2 separate regions of the Homo sapiens genome follow, and region 2 is linked to region 1. The links are contacts of gene promoters, found by promoter capture Hi-C in human tissues and cell types (Jung and others, 2019). All regions are on one chromosome and are shown on one strand. Each heading gives the region's core, a stretch centred on a gene start or on the middle of the fragment in contact. The rest is flanking DNA. Distances are from core to core; before and after follow the strand shown. Region 1 holds the start of FABP2 (fatty acid binding protein 2). Region 2 has its middle 64 kb from the start of LINC01061.

The links. The method cuts DNA at HindIII sites, captures the fragments that hold promoters and counts their contacts. A contact is called where the count stands out against the background at its distance.
Region 2: a contact is called between a fragment that was not itself captured here and the fragment with the promoter of FABP2 in region 1, in 2 of the 25 tissues and cell types used here (H1 embryonic stem cells and dorsolateral prefrontal cortex).

Annotation. Positions count from the first base shown.
Region 1 is chr4:119,320,877-119,323,407 of GRCh38, forward strand. FABP2 (fatty acid binding protein 2) reads right to left here and starts at 1,262. Exons shown (of 4, transcript NM_000134.4): 1 at 1,160-1,262. The coding sequence starts at 1,226. The HindIII fragment of the contact is 4,027 bases long and covers 639-2,531 here.
Region 2 is chr4:119,473,010-119,475,540 of GRCh38, forward strand. It overlaps the pseudogene SEPTIN7P14. Among named protein-coding and RNA genes, the nearest start is that of LINC01061, 64 kb to the left of the region's middle. The HindIII fragment of the contact is 3,030 bases long and covers 1-2,531 here.

The DNA of each region.
Region 1 (2,531 bases), core at 12-2,511:
AAATCCCATAGGAAGTGTTTATTTTTCCAAGTTATGTTTTGTTTGTTTATTTTGAGGGTGGGAAGAAAACTCGGTAGCATTGCCTTTGCACAAGAACATTCAGATTGCTTCTACAGAAGTTCAGGTTCAATCAGATCAAGAGAACTGATTAAAGTTGTTTTTCCATAACTTGAGAAAAATTAAGTAGAGTACAGAATTATAGAATCTTAGAGCTGAGCAACCTTAATAAGATTAACAAACTGTTCATTTCAGTGTTAAGTAAATCAAATTCTAGAAATATCAAATGAAGGATTAAAATGTATATTCATATATTTATAAGGAAGCACATCTTTAATTCCACATATACAGTATTCTTTTTTCTTAAATGCCCCTTTGTTTTTCTTAGTGGCTTTAACATTTTGAACTTTATAGTTCTATTTGCTTCTTGTGGCATTTCTTTCTGACACAAAAATGAGAAAATTAGCAAATATTAAGCCAAAATCACTATAAGAATCTACAACTTTTATAAATTTAAACTTAGAGTTCCTAAACTGTAAGCTATAATTGATGCAGATTTTTCTTTTAGGGGAATGACACAAATTTGTTTGCCTATCTTGTATAGTATATGGGCTGCCAGAGTATTGGTATCAAATTATAAATCAGTTAAATTAAACGCCCTGGAGAAAACTACACAGCTTCTCAAGATTATTCCAAAACTTTTTTAAGTTAGAAGAAATCAGAATTAAATCTAACTTATTCAGCGCTATAAATTTTAAGAGAACCTTTTCCATTACTTTCTTATATGGTCTTTGTTTTTCCATCTCCTAGAATTTAACATTTTCAGATCTGGAAGTTATCATTACACGCTGCCATTTTCTTACTGTAAACAACAAAAAAAGTCATTTTTCAGTTAAAGAGGGAAGGAAACATTTCTGGATCTTTTTGGTGTGTTTCAGAGAACAGCACTCAAAGAATCTTTTCTTCCATTAGTGAGATAGTGGATTCTTCCTAATGTAAGAAGGGAGAATATGGTTTCCCTCCTCTGAACATCTTCTGGATCCTCTCTACCACATCAGGAGCTATCTGTAAGCTATCTGTAATCTCCTAGAGATTTAGGAGTTAGAAAGAAAAATGTTTGTAAGAAAGCAAAGAATGAGCCACAAAGAAATAAAGTCTTTACCCATTTTTTCCATGAACTTGTCATAGTTTTCACTCCGGTCTACCTTCCAAGTGCTGTCAAACGCCATGATTTCAGTTGAGTCAGCCTCTAGGCAGCTAGAGATTCAGGTCTGTCCTTGGGCGAGAATTTATTATATTTCTTATCTTAGAACCAACTTCATACTGTGATGTGGAAGCTTAAAGTTCAGGAAATCACCTAACTATGTCAAGCAATTAATTAATTCTTATTAATTAATTCTTAATTCTCGTTCTGTACATTCCTGAGATCTTCTGAAATTCAACTGAATTAAAACATGAGAAGCATACCTATTCTGTCTTAAATTACAGTTTGTGGGCATACTTATTTCAAGAATTAGAATGCATGCCGTCTGAAGATTGTTTTTCTAAGTTCAAAGTGCAGACTATGTTGGAGGTAATATAATTTATAGCATATATCAAATAACATCTGGGAAATGAGACCATGACCTTTCCCTTTTTCACAACAGCAATTATCTTGTAAAGTAAGACTTTATGATGAAATACAGTTGAAAAGTTAAAGTTAATAAGATTCGTTTTCTAATATGTCTTTTTGCATTGTGTTTAGCATTGCCAGGAGTTTGGATAAATATCCTGGCACTTTGTAGGGTGCATGACACACAATAAGTGCTCATTGATTTTTGTCTTGATCCTGAATGGTGATAGGCCACTGAGCAAAAATTCAAGAGGTACAAATGAGGCTGGATGGTGTAAAAACTTGCATAAAAGAAAGAATGAGCTTTAAACATCTGCCATGTGCAGAGAGAACAAAATCCAGTTTTAGCTGTGCCATTAATTAAAACCACTCCTTCATTTTACTCTCAATGCCTCTCATCCCCAAACCCAGTAGAGTCAGAAGCCACAGCTCAATTATGTATGTAGGGTCAGGGTATAGAGGGTAGCTAGAAAGGTACAAAGAAAAGGTCACCATATCTCTCCTTTCCCTACTTCAGGCTGCCAGCCAGGAACAGGCCAAGCTTGGGGAGGAAACTTGGTGTGAAGTAAAGAGTTTTAATTACTAGTCTTAAGATGTTTATTACTAAAATGAGTCTATTATTGTGACTGAATGTGACCAGATAACATCTTATTAACTAAGGGTCAGGAAAGAAGCTCTAGGGCTTGCCCAAGATATTACTTAGGGTCAAGGGAAGATAAATCTAACAGATTTGAACAGAACTTTGGGGAACAGAATCCCAGTTTTTAAATTTTGATATTATTTTATATTTTGATTTTTAAAAATCTTTTAAACATGTTAGATATTGTTTGATTTTTTATTTCGAGTTGCCCACTTTTTATTTTATTAAGTAAGCACTTTAAAAAGCAAACTATTTTCTACTAGCTCTATTATTTCATTAAAA
Region 2 (2,531 bases), core at 14-2,513, 150 kb after region 1:
ACCTCAGGTGATCTGCCCACTTCGGCCTCCCAAAGTGCTGGGATCACAGGTGTGAGCCACTGTGCCTGGCCAAGATAAACATACCTTAAGAAAATTTTTAAAAATAATTATTAATATAAAAAACCATGATGAACAAGATACCAAAAATTTAAATACAAGATTGTGCAGGAAATACTTATGGAGTTCAGTGACTATCTTGAAATGTAGTACATACAACCATCATCACTGTTCCTTCACAGTACATTTATTTTTCCACTGAAATAATCCTCACAAAATTCTCTCAATTACCATAATCTTACATATCTATGTTGTGGGTATTAGAACTTAATATCAGTCACCATCCTTGAAATTTAGGCTCTCTGGTCCAACGTTTCACTTTGAAATGTATTTTGTATATTGTTGTATCAGTCAAAATTTCCAATTTAAATTATAGTTATCCATCCATCCATCCATCCATCCATCCATCTGTCCATTTATTTATTGGGTTTGTGTATGAAGGAGAAAAAATAGAATCTTCAAATGCTAATGATTAATCCATTTTAACGACTATAAAATGGAAATGTGTACAGTTACAAAGGCATACTAAGTTGGTCTGCCTCATCAAATAGGCCTGGGCAAAAATTGGTAGGTAAAATTAAAGGGAATCACAGTGCATTTTACTCTCATGATCTCTGTTAGAAATGTCCCACTAAACATGTTACGTTACCAACTCTTCTATTATGCCCTCATCTCTACCTCTATAGATTTAGCCTTTGTGAGCTATTCTGAAACAGCTTATTCCACAGCTTCTGGTCAATTTTTAGACAATGTAAATAGAGATCCACCTTCAGATATAGACTGGTGAGTCTGGTCTTGTTCAGAGAACAATTAAGGACCTTCAAGCTAGTGAATTGTCAATTCCTTTGTAAAAAGTGTTTTATTAACCTTCAGCTACCTTGGAGGTAGTTGTTGACAGAGCATTATATTAAAACTTGTATTAAAGAATACAGATATGCATTGTATTAGAGGCTTTAGGACTTTTTTCAAAACGAACCTTGAAAAACTTCTTCAATTTTTTTTTTTTAAAAGCTGTTCTATTAAAGGGATAATATAGTGAATAAATATTTGTTGTCTGTTTAACTTACCTTATGTAGAGCTATTGGCTCTAAGGATTTTGAAAGGACAACAATAATTCTCTAAAAATAATTCAGGCACCTTTGGCCATTTGTGTAACCAGGTACAAATTACCACGTTTCCCAGTTTCCCCCTTGAGTCCAACTGTAATGTATTGTTCTGTAAAGTATAGTCCAGTTGTCAGCTCTGTTTGCCTTGGTCAATTGAATGATCCTCCTCCTTAAGCTTAGCCTATAGTGCATTTGGCTTAATAAATGAAACTGTAACATGCCAGCCACACAATAGAGGATTTTATAGAACTGTTTCTGCTTGGAATACTATAATTGGAATTTGAGTTAACTATAATTAAAAAAGCTTTCATAGCCCATGGTATATGAACTCTGAAACCCCAAATACCAAAATCCTACTATATAAAAATGATCCACATACTAAAAAAAAAAAAAAAAAACCAGACACACAAATCGAGTTTAATTTCGTATCATGCTATTTTCCTAAAATATAGTTTCTAAAGTTATTGCAAATTAGTTCCTGCTGCTTGGTAAAATACCATATTTAAACTTAATTACAACTGCCTTCCTGCAATGAAGGGCCAACTTTTTCAAATAATGTGTTACAGCCCAGTGACTCTAGGGAGTCTATGGTCCCATTGCTGCAAATGAGCAGATCGGTGAAAACAAAAACATATTAAGAAGTCCACATTTCTAACAAACACCTTGCAAAGAATAAAATGGTAATTTAAGGAATATGTCCACTTAATATACATTTCATGTATATAGGACACATAATACAATAAATACCCTTTTTACTACCCCCAATTTAAGAAGTAGACTAGTATAATAGAAGGCATATCTCCTTGGTACTCAGTATTTCTAAAAGGCAGTAATGGCTGTCTCCTCTAAGCACCTGAGATGATATGCCTCTGTGCACTCTAGCCTTAGAAATATGCTTATCTCCTGCAGGCAGAGCATGCTGGAAGTGCCAGGGAGTTAAGGTTACCAGGAACAGCCCTCAACTAATAATGAGGAAAAGCTTGTGGATAAATATCCAAGCCCCCTGCCTTCAGGTAGGAACACTGATATTTTATTAGATTGGTGCAAAAATAATTGCGGTTATATAGTCTCAAAGAGGAAACAGTCTCCACGTGAAATCGAGCCCCAGTTGTCCACAGTAATAACCCGCTTATTAACTTAGCCTATATGGATTTACTTTCTTCTCATCTGTCTTCTCTGCTTTCGCAGGGAAATAAGTAGTTCACTAGTGTTTCCTGTGATAACCTCCTGAATAAACTACTTATGCTCAAATCCTTATGTTGGGGTTTTCTTCTGGAGGAATTGCCAAACTGTTGAAGTTCCCTGTGTTCATCCCCAATCTCAGCTCTGTCCGTCTCCCCACCAAGAGTTACTGTTTTGATTTTTTGT